5 separate regions of the Homo sapiens genome follow, and regions 2, 3, 4 and 5 are each linked to region 1. The links are contacts of gene promoters, found by promoter capture Hi-C in blood cells and fetal thymus (Javierre and others, 2016). All regions are on one chromosome and are shown on one strand. Each heading gives the region's core, a stretch centred on a gene start or on the middle of the fragment in contact. The rest is flanking DNA. Distances are from core to core; before and after follow the strand shown.

Region 1 (2,700 bases), core at 180-2,679:
CATCCAGTAGTCACTCTTTCCTCTGGGTCCAGTCTTTTTCCCATCACTTTCATCATTGTCCGCTATTTTATTCCTCTGCCGCATCTCCTTTGGGACCCAAGAGGGAAGGAGGACACGAAATAATACAGGAAAGGAAATCAAAAAACAATTGTAGAGAAACCACTCCTCGTTTCCTCTTCTATGTCTCGTGTGTGTGTGTGTGTGTGTGTGTGTGTGTGTGTGTGTGTGTGTGTGTAAAATTTTAATTTCCCTGGAATTGGAACTACAGAAGTCCCTCCTCAGCCCTACCGGGAAAGTGGCACTGGGCACGACCGCCCTTTCCAAGGCAGTCTGCAATCCTTTTCGCGGAAGTAGAGGAGAAAAGGGGGTGGAGAAGGGCGCCGCGATGCAGCATCCGCTGAGAAAACAGGCAGTTCGCACGTGAGCGGGCTCGCAGCCTGTGGCGCCACCTGACCGGGCCTGGCGCCCCCAATGTGGTGCAGTGGCCCAGCAAGACCAGAAGGCTCAGGCCCTCCTGAACCCTTGCCAAGTCAGAGGTCCCTTTCTGCCTGGGCTCAGGCCTCGCCCGCATATAGTTTTCCATCTGCTTCCACCCCTGCCATCCTTCCTGGGGACCAAAAATGAAGAAAGACAACCCCCCCATCCCCCGGTATTTCGTCTTCCCCTCACAGCCTCTTCCTGTCCTGATCATCTGCTCAAAGAGAAGACGTTCTCTCCACACACTCCACCCCCGCCTCCACCTTCTGCGGCAATGAAGCCACGCCACCCTAGGGGGCTCGGGGGCCGGATGCTGGCGGGGCGCGCACTAGAGACACGCCGCACTGGAAGCAGCCCTCGGAGTCCCGTGAGCCAGGGAGACTGGGGTGCACCGCGCCACGCTGAGTCTCGGTGTAAAAGCCGAGAGCGTGAGCACCTCCTGGCCGAAAGCACGCGAGGCGCTCCTTGCCCAGGACCCCGCGCGCCCCCTCAGTTCCCGGGCAGCTGTCGGCGCGCACTGGCTGACGCGAGCTCTGCTCCCGCGGCCGCTTCGGGATTTTTTTGTCTATATAAGGGCTCGCTGGCCAACTCTGCGTTGGCACGTTTGTCACAGGCTGGCCATTATTTGCACACACGCGTGCGGCTCCGCGGGCAGCTCGGGTCGCAGACGCAGGCTCGCCCTCCTCTTAGCCGGCACCTCCTCCTCCTCCTCCTCCTCTCCCCTCCCTCCCCAGCTGTACTTACTTTATCTGGTCTCTGGCGCAGGGTGGGCGCTGCAGCCCTCCGTTCCCAGCAAACCGCAGCCGATTCGCCTCGCTGTCAACGGGTGAATGGAATTATTTATTTATTTATGGCCCCTGACGTGTCCTCGCCCGCCACAGCCAGCGGAGAAGGAGGCGGTGGCGGGAAGGGGAGGCGCGGCTGCTGAACGCCCTTGTGGGTGCGGAGGAGCGCGCGCCAGGGGTGGGGGCCGGACAGGCTGCGGTGGAGGCCGGCCCGGGGGGTGGTGGGGGGGAGCCGCCTCCCGGTGCCTGGAGACCGACTGAGCATGCTCCAAGCGGCTGTCAAAGCTATAGGCACTTTCTCTATCGCTCGGGGCACTCCACTTCGGATTTTAGTTTTGACCAAGGAAGAAAGCCAAAAGGCAGGTAGATCTGTCTTTCCAGATGGGTCGTAACTTGCTGTATCCGAAGTACTCTGTAGCCTGACCTAGAAGACAGATGTGCGGTAGCTCTGTGCAACCCAAGCATGGGAGAGGAAAGCATGCAAAAAAAGAAGAGTCTGGCCGAATGCAGGGAGAATAGGAGATCCTCATTGTGAGCTTGCAGGGAAAGTGTTGAGCCATTTTTCAACTGAGGCCTTTTTGGGAGAAAGAGGTAGGGCACTGTTGGAGATTAGACTCACCAACCAAATCACTTCACGGAAAAAAATATAATTGACACCATAGGAGGAAGGACATAGAAAACAGCACCAAAAAACATTAAAAATAAGAAGGATTTTTTTTCAAATCATTTATAATTCCTTTCATTTTTAATTTCTCAAATTACTTAGTTCTTCAAACCAGCATTTAGTTATTTGACAACGAATAGTGCTAGAGATAATGGTAATTCTGCTGTCATTGGTTTGGTCTCTTCCCCTGTCTAAAATGTGCTTCTTGGTAAAACTGGAAAGAGGAAGGGCTGGAAGAGAACATTTAAGTAACCCCATAGATTGGGTTTCTTTAATATCTTTAAGTTAAATTGCCACTTTAGAGAAAAAGAAACTATCCAAAAGAATAATTGTAGGTTTTGGCTTGACAAGTCCTATTGCAGTTTGTCTACCAGTTTAGCTAGCTTTCTCCTCCTTGATTTCACAATCATTTTAAGGTGTGTTCTATGATTCTTCACATTTTACGAATTTATAAAAAGAGTTAAGTCATTTGGGTAAATTCACATTGTCTTTGCCACAGCTAGTCTGTTGTAATGGACGAAATTTGAATTTCAATTTCTGTAGCTATGAAATAAAAGTAATATCAATCGTGTTGATTTCATAAGATTTAAGTGAAATAATATACATGAAGTGGCTGGTAGGCATAATACAAGATGAAAAAATAATCGTGATTAATAACATCAAAATTACTGGAAGATAATTTTATTGAAAGAATGATATTTGAAAATGAAAAAAAGGCAGAAAATTACAGAAAGGATTTTATATTTTTAAGCTAAAAATGCTTAAATAGACATT
Region 2 (2,700 bases), core at 157-2,656, 3.0 Mb before region 1:
TAAAGAAATGTGTATTTATATACATGTGTAAATTGACTCACAGAATCACATGAACAAATTTATTTTCTAAAGTAAAACAATTCAGGTAAAATTGTCCTCTTCTTTTCTGGTCCCCCACTCTTCAAAAACCCTCTTTCTTTTAGGCTTTCCCTTTCCACACTGTTATTGCCATTAATTTTATTTAGATTAGAAATCTGTACAAAAATGGTAGCAAAGAGGAGACAACGCATACATCTGACCTAGACTCCAAAGCTTTACAGATGGCCCATAGCATGGAGAGAAGCCAGGACAAATTTTAGCATAGTCTTCTACATTGCATCAATGTCATTACTTGAGTATCAACTTAAGGATCCTTACTCAAAATAGACTCAGGTGGCCTAGAAAAGTGCTTGAAATTTTCTGCCTATTCCATGGGGTAAACATTGAAGTTTGCTATTGTAATCATTCAAGTCAAATTTTTGTGTTAACACTGGCATTATTTATATTAGCTATGTAGTCACTCTGTGTTTTTTTATAAAAACTAAGTAGATAAGTTCAGAGTTTGGATAATGGTAAAAAGCCAGAAAATGTCTGGAACATAGAGAGAGGCCTGGGGTGGGGGTTGGAGAGGACTGTAGAGGTTAGGGACTTTGGGGAACTATAAGTCAGCATGAGGGTGCTGGATTCCATGGGTAAAGATAATACCACTGACAGGGAAAAAGAATGATAAAAGAGACTAACATTTAAAAAAAAAAATTATGTGCCAGGCAGGCCTTGTGTTAGATACTTGGCATATACAGACAAGAGAGTCACAGGAAGGAGAAGTTTTGTGCTTATTTACGGTCACTCAACCTACATTCAAATACATTTTTGTGTTGTTTTATTATATGATTTTTTAAGTTACAAAAAAAAAAAAGAGGGAAGAAGGAAAAGCAATAAGGCAAACTTGCCAATAGGTTCATGAACAAAAGTCAATTATGGAATGTGGCAGAAGGCAAATATAAATGTATTCAAAGTTTTACCTTTAACAATTACACTTGTGGTTCCAGTTATCTGTTGATAATATAAATTACTCCGTATTTAGTGACTCAAACAACAATTTTATTTCTCTCTCATGGGTCTGGAGTTTGGCTGGATTCAGCTAGGTAGTTCTTGCTGAGGGTCATTCATGGGGTTGTCATCGGATGGTGGCTGGTGATGGAAGCATCTGAAGACTTACTAATTGCAGCCGGGCATGGTGGCTCATGCCTACAATTCCAGCACTTTGGGAGACTGAGGTAGGAGGATTACTTGAGCTTAGGAGTTCAAGACCAGCCTGGGCAACATAGTGAGAACCCATTTCGATTTATTTAAAAAAAAAAATTAAAACCAAAAAGAAATGAAGGCTTACTACTTGCATATTTGGAGCCTGGGCTGGGAAGGCTCACACATTTGGTCCTCTTCTCTCTCTCTGTGGTTCTTCCACATGGTCTTTCCAGTGTTGTGGCTTCAGGGTAGGTGGTTTTCTTCCATGGCAGCTCAGGGCTCCAAAGGCACATGTTCTGAGAAAGAACTAGGTGGCAGCTGTATCACCCCTTATTACCCTGTCTCAGAGTTCACACAGCATCCTTCTGCTGCATTTAATCACAAAGGTCCACTCATGTTCCAAAGGAAGAGACACAGATTCCACCTCTTGTTGAGAGTAGTATTAAAGAATTGGTGGACACATTTTCAAACCACCATAATCTGCTCTCAGGCCACATATTATTTACATCCTTCCCACATGCAAAATATACTCACCCCCTCCCAAGACCTTCTGAAATTCTCATTTATTAAGACATTGGGCTCAGGCTCAAGGTCCAGGACTTTATCAGTGAAATCAGGTCACGTGTGGATAAAGATACTTGTGTGTGGTCCTGTGAGTACAGCTCACGTGGCATTCCTTGAGGTCTGAAAAATCTGTCAGCTAGTGAGACAAATTATCTCTCCCTCATACCCAATATACATAGTGGAGTAGGTATGGGGTAACCATTATAAATAATCCCATTCACAAAGGGAGAAAAAAGAGGCATGTGGCGACCTCCATAGCAAGTCTATTGTCTTTCACGGTTCTGGGGCTTGACTAAGCTAATCTAGATGGTTTTCGTTGAAGGGGTCTCATGAGCTTACAGCTAGATGGTGGCTGGTGCTGGAACCATCTGAAGGCTTGCTCACTCATATATATGGCACCTGGTCTGGGAGGACTTAAATAGCTGGGATTGGGAGCAGCTGGGCTTCTTCAGACACCTCTTTCTAACTCTATGTGATTTCCCTGTGGTCTCTTCAGCATGGTAGCTTCAGGGTAGCTATTCTTACATGGCAACCCAGAGCTCTAAAATGCAGGGGCATGGGGAAGCTGTATCACCTCTTATGACCCTGTCTCAAAAGTCACATAGTGTCTTTTCTGTCATATTCTATTTGTTGAGGCAGCACAAAGGCCACTTAGGTTCAAGAAAAGGGAACACAAGACTATATTTTTTACTGAGAAGTGTCAAAGATTTTGCAGACATGTTTTTAAACCACCACAACTGGAAGAAGGAAAAAGAACAAAAAGAAAAGCTTATGAACTGTTGCTGAAAAATTATGCTATATCCTATGGCACCAAATTGGTTGGTGGTTGCAGCCACAAATCTGAGTGATGATGGACAAAAACAGGTCAAGGGTCATATTCAAATGCATGAAATTATTTCAGCTTTTTGTTCC
Region 3 (2,700 bases), core at 66-2,565, 3.0 Mb before region 1:
CAGTATTTTTAGTTCTTTGTTATGTTCAAGTATATTTGTCCCAGTGCCCATCATAGAAATAGTAATTGCCTCAAGAGTATTTTTAGTTTATTTTATAAGTCTTGGATTTTAATGGACTGTAAAACATGAAACTATTGTACTGTAGTAGAAAGAACTGCTTTTGAAAAAGCAAGACATAGTGATCCACCTGGACTTTAGGTATGTGACTCTAGGCAGCTCACTTCAACCCCCTAATCCTTGACTCTTCTGTAAAATGAAAATAACTTCTTTGCAAGGCTACTTTGAGGATTAAAGGGAATAATATAGGCAAAGCCTTGGCCTGCACATACTAGGTACTCCAGAAATGGTGGTTAAAATTACGCATCAGAAAAATTATTTTAACTATATCTGACTGCAGTACACACTGAGTAACGTACAAATTCTTGTTTTATACTTTCATTACATAACAAAAAAAGGAATTTTAATGCAAATTATTTTCTTTGAGAGGTAGAGAGATAGTCTGGCATTGATATGGACAGGCAGTTTCAAAACAGCTTCACCAAATTAAAAAAAAATGCTCATAAGATTAAGATAATCTAATCTACATCAGGATTTTTACTTGACCTAGCATTTTTACTTAAAGTTCCAAATCTTTCTTTCTAAACTATTGAGAGACACTTCGTGTCTTCTGTTTATTATTTTTTCATTTTATATATTAATGGTTTTAATAAAGCTCTCAAGAACATTTCCCCTTTACTCTATAATTTTTTTTTTCCCAAAGTGATCATCCTAAACATGTGACTCACTACTCGTAAAGTCTTTAAACAGAGTAAGTGATGTGGGGTGTCAATAATGTTTCAGACTTAACGGGGATGAGAAAGCAAACACAAAGTATATTCAAGAAAAAAATGAATCACTGGTCAGATCCAAAGGTAAATTATCAAAGTGGTTATGATTTTAAGTTATAAAGAAACACTAGTGTTGCTGGAACATAATTAAAAACCTGGAATCATGCTTAATGTTAGCTGTAAAACAAATAAACAATCTGTACAATCACAGTTATAACTATATAGCTTTCATGAAAAATCTATCCTAGACTACAAAGAAAATTTGGGTTTGAGGCCAATACAATTTCATGATTATAATACATAACTGATACATCTCAACAACATAAAAATTGTAAGGAGAAAGAGTAACAACAGTGGTATTACTTTCAAGAATTGTGTTGGGAACTAAAAAATAATTTCACAAAATTAGATAAATATATCCAGTCTGACATAAACACCATATGGTAGCTGCCTTAAGAGACAGGAGTTGTATGTTACGTGTTAAATTATGACACAGAGGTAGTAGTAAGAGATGGAAAGCAAATGAAATTTGCACAGTTGGGTCTGAAGCCTAATATTTTCTTTTTCTAGATAAAAATAAAATTGCAATATAGGTATGGAGTATTTTTCTCCATCTAGTAAACATCATAGAAGGAAGCAGTTGTTAATATATTGCAATGATTTTCCAAATAACGGCATGGTTTAGCAGATCTTCCCTGGCTGCACTGTTTATTGAATTTTAGTTTAAAATAAAACTTAGTGTAACTACATTCGCAGCAACTGAAAATGGTCTGAAAATTTAATTTTTTCATACTTGAGGGGATAGAATCAATACCATAGTACAATTAGGAAGGTTTCAATTGACCTCTGGGTGACCTCTGGGTGAACCAATCACACAGACACCAAATACACTCCAGAAAGACTCAGATATGAGAACTATAAGATTCCGGGTCTTCCATCAAAGACTGCTTTGCAACAGAAAAATGAAAATAGTTGAAATACATGGGCAATATGCTGCCTCAAATTATTCTTGTAAGTAGGCAGTGTCAATATAAATCAATATTAAGATGGGATAAATCTAAAAGTTTAAACGTCTGCCTCAAAAAAACAAATATCTCCCCCACCCCCCAAAATCATAAAAAACCAAAACCCTAATTAAAAATATTTTTTTGAACTAGAGATAGGATCTTGCTATGTTGTCTAGGCTAGTCTCAAACTCCTGGCCTCAAGTGATACTCCCACCTTGGCTTCCCAAAGTGCTGGGATTACAGGTGTGGGCCACCACGCCAGCCAAAACCCTCATTTAAACAGGTTTTAAATACTTTACTTTGAGAAAAGATATATAATCTCTCTACCCACATAACAGAAAAGACATGATTATTCCAAATTTAGGTGCTGAATCCATCATATTTATAGCAATCCCATTTTGTGAGCATCTTGGCTGCTGAATCCCGTGTATTCATAAAGACAGTAGGAGTTATAGTCACAATTTTTTTTTATTTTTAGTTTTTTATGGCACTTCCAGTTTTTGGAACATATTACTTTAACTTGTTCAGCTATTTCAAAATGGCAGGGGAACTTTACCTTGGCAAAAACGCAACAGTGGCCAAAGTGCAAAGTATTTCTACTTTCCACTTTGTAGTGGTAGAACCATGAGCAGTGGTTCTACCACTAACAGCTCCACTTCTTATGAACAAGGAATAGGCACAATTAGAGAAAGAGCTGAAAGAGAAGAGGCAGAGAATGAAAGAGGAATTAAAAGAGAAAAATCAGGGGAAAGTATAAGAAAGATGGTAACGTAAACATAAAATTTAACAAGGATAAAAACATAAAAGAGAGAAGGGGAGGGAAGAAAGTGATGTCCAAGAAAAAGGAAGAAAAATGGTCAAAGATC
Region 4 (2,700 bases), core at 82-2,581, 4.8 Mb before region 1:
CACTTGAACCTGGGAGGCAGAGGTTGCAGTGAGCCGAGATGGCACCACTGCACTGCAGCCTGGGCGACCGAGCGAGACTCCGTCTCAAAACAACAACAACAAAACCCCAAAAAATGTTTCAATACGGTAAACAATTATGCATCTTGCAAAGGTTCTTGGGGGAAGGCAAGCAACATACTTAAAATATTAAGCCTTAACTTTTCCTGGATAGCCATTAAGAATCAAACAATTTGGAAAAATTCCTCTACACCTACTGAAGACTGTTTCAAATACTACGACTGAATCTTTCCAGCCTTTTAACACCACGCTGACAAGTCGGTTTAATAAAACGTAACTCTCCCCCAACCCCCGCCCGCCACAACTAATTAGCACTTTCAAAAAGTACTCGTTTTTCTGGTTACAGGGAAACCTCATGCTTCTCTAGTCCTGCAGGATGGTGAGGAAGGTTTGAGAAGAAATGGAGCGTCCGTGCTGGCCAATTACTGCACAGAAATAACACTTTTCCTTTTTGTCCAGGGGTGGGGGAAGAATCAAGTTTGAGGTCTCCACAGTTGATAACGCTACAACGATGACTAACGGGCTTCGGAACCACAGGCGATGCCGACCCTCCTCTGCTAGCCTTGCTCCCATCCCTCCCCCGATCCCTCCCCTAAAGGAAGCCTCGTGGCAATTCGGGTGATGAAACACCAAGCAACCGCCGGCCACGCACTCGGGACGCGCTCCTCGGCGGCGGCCCCGGCTCGTACCCACCCCCACCCGGTCCGCCCAGCCAGGGGGTGCACCGCCATAGAGGGTCCCAAGCCTGCACCCTCCCTGGCGTCGGGACTCCCCCGGGCCGGTCCGCCCCGGCCAACTTCCTCGAAGCCTCACGCGGACCAAACCTGGTCCCGGTCCCGCTGCCCCCGAGCCCCGAGTCACCTTCCCTATCACTCCATCCCGCCTCCCAGCCTGCACTCCAGATGGTCAGCCAGCGGAGCGGAGCGGCGCGGCACGCAGAGAGCTGGGAGAGCGGCCCTCGTCCTTGTCGCCGTAGTCCTCCGCCACGGCCGCAGCTACAACGCCAGAGACGGTGCTGGCCGGGACCGCGCGCCTCTAGTCGCTCTGCGTCCCCTGGCACCTTCTCTTGCGTGGCGCCGGGCAGGCAGGCAGGCAGGCAAGCAAGCAAGCAAGCAAGCGGGCGGGGTCGGCGCCCCAGGAAGGGAAAGAGCGCGAGGGCCGGCTAACGCCGCCGCCGCCGCCGCAGCCGCCGCCGCCGCTGAGTCAGCGCGAAGCGCGCTCCCCGCGTCGGTGCCGCGCGGGCGGGCGCCGGCGCCAGCAGTCTCTTGGAGAGTGCGGGCGGCAGCCCGCGGGCTGACGCCGGAGGCCTACAACTCCCAGCATGCAGGGAGCGGCCGGCGCTTCCGGGCGGCGAGGCGCACACGCGCTCCCTGGCGCTCGCCGGAAGGCGTGGTCACCGGGGCTTGAGGTGCATGCCGGGATGAGGCATCCGGCCCAGGAGTCCCTACCCAGCTCCTAAATCCCCGGCTGTGTCTGCGTGGTGTCAGAGCTCAAGCGTCAGGTTCGCCCCGAGCATTCCACAAAGGGCTTCTAGTAGTTGAGAGTACGGATTCACGAATCAGGATGACGTGGTTCTAACCACGTGTGAGTCAATTTAATTGCTTGTCTACGGCCCCAAGTGTCCCGAGTACAGCAGTGTAAAGCTCTGATGAGTGCTGACAGGTTTTCAAAATTAATTAATTAATTTATTTATTTATTCTTTGAGACGGAGTCTCGCTCTGTCGCCCAGGATGGGGTGCAATGGCGAGATCTTGGCTCACTGCAACCTCCGCCTCCGGGGTTCAAGCAGTTCTCCTGCATCAGCCTCCTGAGTAGCTGGGATGACAGGCGCGCGCCACCATACCCAGCTAATTTTTGTATTTTTCGTAGAGACAGGGTTGCACCATGTTGGACAGGCTGATCTCGAACTCCTGACCTCAAGTGATCACCTGCCTCGGCCTCCCAAAGTACTGGGATTACAGGCGTGAGCCACGGTGTCCGGTCCAAAATTTATTTTAAACAGACTAAAATTTTGTCCATGAAAAGAAGGAGAGCATTCTTAGGAAGTCCTACTCACGGGATCTTTCGATGCTACTAAATGTCACTTCATTTATTTGGTCACAGATTTATTAATTTATTAATGCAACATAGAGGCAGTGTAGGCTTAGGCTGCCTCGACTTGACTGCCACTCCGCCTCCTCACTAGTTGACCTCAGGCACTTTACTTTAGTCTATCCATGCTTCAGTTTACTCGTATGTAAAATGGGGATTGTTAATAGTACCGACCTCAAAGGGTTTCTGTGAGGTTTGAGTTAATACATGTGTTTGACACACAATGTGCTCAATATTTACATTTCATTGTTGATTATTCAATGTGTACTAAATACAGACTAGGTTGCTGCCACAGACTACAAACAAAACTTGGAGAGGGAGGAATGGTAAGAGCATAGAATAAAACTAATGTTTTAACAGCTACCTTTATTTAGCTGTCCAAGACACTACACCAGGCATTTCCTATATAAAATACCTTGAATCACTCTTGCATCATGTTTCTAATTTATGTGTTTAAAATGTCAGGCTAGTGGCTACAAGATGTCGCTAAAGGAGAACTGGGTTTTAATTTTTTCTTGTTTTTAGAGAAAGGGTCTCGCTCTGTTACCCAGT
Region 5 (2,700 bases), core at 31-2,530, 4.2 Mb before region 1:
ACGTATTAACTTACCAATGGCAGCTTTGCCCCAGATTTGTACACTGAGATCTGTTTTTCCTTTCGTGGATTTATCTAATATTTGAAGGCTAGTTTTAAATCTGTGTTGTTGCTCATTTTTTTCATCTCCTTCCCAAGGATTCCATTCTTCACTTTCCAAAGTGGACTGTTCTGTTTTAAAAAGAGTAAGTGTTTACCAGTAAGGTATTATTGCAGTTGTAGGTAAATTCAAATCATTTAAATTAAGTGTTAGTTCTAATTTCATCCTAACTTTAATTTCTGAGAGGTACAGCAACTGAATTTAAACTGGTAATACACAATGAAAACAAAAAAGAAAATCAGCAATTTTTTTACTGAACTTTTTTTACTCTGAAAAGTCTTAGAAATAAAATGCTACCTTGAGACAGGAAAATTCTCTTCCCCAACACAAAACCTTTAAAAATAACAGGATAATATGTATCAAGTTACAAGCTTAACTTTTGCAATTATTTTTATCCATTGTATACAGGTAACCTATGCACAAAAAACTGACTTCAGAGTGTAGTGTTCACCAGTCTTAGATACTATCGTGCAAAATTCTGAATAAAGGGAAAGAGAAAGCCGAGTCTGATCTTAACACAAGTTAAAACACAGGACAGGGGACCAGAATTTGGAGGTAAAGTCTGCCTTATGGTCACTGCAGGATTAGAGAGGGCTTTGTTTCAACATGGAAACGGATGTCTTAAACCTTGCGGCGATTTTGAGGCCTTCCAGGAGCATTCCCGCAAATCTCTGGCATTTGAGACGACGTCTTGGATTTTAACACGTGTTTGAAAGGCGTGCGCGCCTGTCACCCCCTGGGATCGGGAGCGGGGACGGCGTGTGAGATCTGGGTAAGAATGAGGACCATTCTCCAATTCCGAGCCAAGGGCTGGCTCGAGAGGCTGTAGGGGGCAAAGCGCTTCTCAGGCCCTGCGGGTAATCCCGGACTTGAGAGCCGGGTGCGGGGACCCGGCCCCAGCCGCCCAGCAGCCCCAGCCAGGAGCGCAGAGCCGGAAGGAAGCCGCCGACCCAGTCCTACCTCGGCCGCGTCTCTCCCGCGCGGGGGCCGCCCCCTTCCTGAGGCCCCGCGGGGACCCGGCCGGCGCCTGGCGGCGGCGCCCGAAGAAGACGTGGTAGGCAGCGTAGAGGGAGAATAGGCAGTACAGGGCGATAAGAAACGAGCAGAGCCGCTTCCGCGTCAGCCGCATCCCACTCGGGCTTCCAGTCAGGCATCCACCGCCATGGAGCGGGCGGAAAGAGAATCCGCGACACCGGCGGCGTCCGAGGCAGGCCCAGCCCGTTTCCAGGCAGTCCCCAGCCAAGGCTCCTCCGCCCAGCGCCCGGTACAGCCCCGCCCCGGACACGCCCACCGCCCGCCTCCCGCCCAGGCCCCGCCCCCTCCAGTCGCGGCTCATCCACCCGGCCGAGGGCCTGCCCACCTTCGACACTGGAGGAGGGGGTACTGGAGCGGCCCCTACCCCACGCTGCTTCCAGACGCCGGGCTGAGTGGGAACCTCTCTGACCTCTGCCGTGTACTCATTGCACCTTTCAACCCTGGCCACTTTTCCCAAGTACATAAAGACTCGGGGGAAAAAGAACACCCGCGGTGGTCCATGAAGGCCATGTGAAGGCATGGACTGTGACGTTTTTTGCTCTGCATGGAATCCCTAGCGCCTAGGACAGTGCCTACTACGTTGATAGATGAGTGAATATAAACGTCCTTTAAAAAAATTAAGTGATGATGGTCGCTTAACATTGTGAATGTAATTAATACCACTCACTTGTATGCATAGAAATAGTTAAACTGTCGAATTCATGTTTTATATACCTTACTGCAATAAAAACATTTTTAAAGTTAAGTTTCATTATTATGTGAGTTGAACGCACATAGGCATGCAGTATTTTGTCAAATAGAGGCTGTAAATGTGAATGCTTCAGAAAACTTTGTATCCAGCCTTGGGAAGATGGGCTACAATGTTTTGTCAGTTGCTCTGGTACTACTGTTCAAATTACCCAGCAGTCTTGCGACGGTATGTCTGCTAATTAGGGTGACCAATGGTCCCAGTTTGCCCAGGACTGTAAGGATTCTCCAGTTGGAGGATTTTTAGTGCTAAAATTGAGAAAGTCCTAGGAAATCAGTAAAATTGGTCACTCTAGCACCGACCCTAAACTATTAGGTCAAACACTTTACCCAATCCCCCAAACAGTTCCCTGCCTCAAAAGACCTGTTTTAAACCATTTTTGCTCAGACTCCCCAAATCCTATAAATATCACCCCCAACCTTCTCCTTCTGAGACTGCCAAGCTTCTGTCAAAGTGTGGCCTCCCTTACTGTAGTAGATTTAATAAATTTAGCTTTCCTTGATTAACAGGCTATTCTGGTGTCTTAGGGAGATGGCAGTTGTTTTATGTATGCTGTATTGTTGTTTATCCTATTTTGTTTGTTTGTGGAAATGACAATTATTTAAGGATAGGAAGTAATTACCTTATAATTACCACAAAACACCCACTGTATCAATGTACATTCAGATGCTACTGACTAATGGTTTTACTATTGAGAAATGCATACAAGGTAAAACTAATATGCAGTTGATGTCATCTTGAATAGGGGAGAGGGCCATGAAAATGAAGGAGTTGTTTTACCTCAAACTGCAAATGACTGCATAATTTGATGATAAGCT

The links. The method cuts DNA at HindIII sites, captures the fragments that hold promoters and counts their contacts. A CHiCAGO score of 5 or more calls a contact.
Region 2: a contact is called between a fragment that was not itself captured here and the fragment with the promoter of SLC16A7 in region 1, in 1 of 17 cell types (non-activated CD4 T cells). The highest score is 5.1, in non-activated CD4 T cells.
Region 3: a fragment that was not itself captured here is called in contact with the fragment with the promoter of SLC16A7 in region 1 in 1 of 17 cell types (naive CD8 T cells); the score reaches 7.3 in naive CD8 T cells.
Region 4: the fragment with the promoter of XPOT here is called in contact with the fragment with the promoter of SLC16A7 in region 1 in 1 of 17 cell types (activated CD4 T cells); the score reaches 5.1 in activated CD4 T cells.
Region 5: the fragment with the promoter of RXYLT1 here is called in contact with the fragment with the promoter of SLC16A7 in region 1 in 3 of 17 cell types (non-activated CD4 T cells, total CD8 T cells and naive CD8 T cells); the score reaches 10.5 in non-activated CD4 T cells.

Annotation. Positions count from the first base shown.
Region 1 is chr12:59,594,758-59,597,457 of GRCh38, reverse strand. It overlaps SLC16A7 (solute carrier family 16 member 7), which reads right to left and starts at 1,429. Exons shown (of 6, transcript NM_001270623.2): 1 at 1,222-1,429. RefSeq lists enhancers at 621-770, 821-960 and a silencer at 1,431-1,500. The HindIII fragment of the contact is 11,642 bases long and covers 1-2,700 here.
Region 2 is chr12:62,615,056-62,617,755 of GRCh38, reverse strand. It overlaps MIRLET7IHG (MIRLET7I host gene), which reads right to left. Exons shown (of 2, transcript NR_186001.1): 2 at 1-2,700. Among named protein-coding and RNA genes, the nearest start is that of MIRLET7I, 13 kb to the right of the region's middle. The HindIII fragment of the contact is 2,304 bases long and covers 255-2,558 here.
Region 3 is chr12:62,597,170-62,599,869 of GRCh38, reverse strand. MON2 (MON2 regulator of endosome-to-Golgi trafficking) reads right to left here. Exons shown (of 35, transcript NM_015026.3): 35 at 1-2,700. Among named protein-coding and RNA genes, the nearest start is that of MIRLET7IHG, 4.2 kb to the left of the region's middle. The HindIII fragment of the contact is 7,638 bases long and covers 1-2,700 here.
Region 4 is chr12:64,403,023-64,405,722 of GRCh38, reverse strand. XPOT (exportin for tRNA) reads right to left here and starts at 1,331. Exons shown (of 25, transcript NM_007235.6): 1 at 919-1,331. RefSeq lists enhancers at 1-609, 1,707-1,756 and silencers at 717-826, 1,157-1,316. The HindIII fragment of the contact is 10,073 bases long and covers 1-2,700 here.
Region 5 is chr12:63,778,489-63,781,188 of GRCh38, reverse strand. It overlaps RXYLT1 (ribitol xylosyltransferase 1), which reads right to left and starts at 1,280. Exons shown (of 6, transcript NM_014254.3): 1 at 1,060-1,280; 2 at 15-170. The coding sequence starts at 1,228. RefSeq lists silencers at 912-1,211, 940-1,215, 1,232-1,461. The HindIII fragment of the contact is 1,854 bases long and covers 473-2,326 here.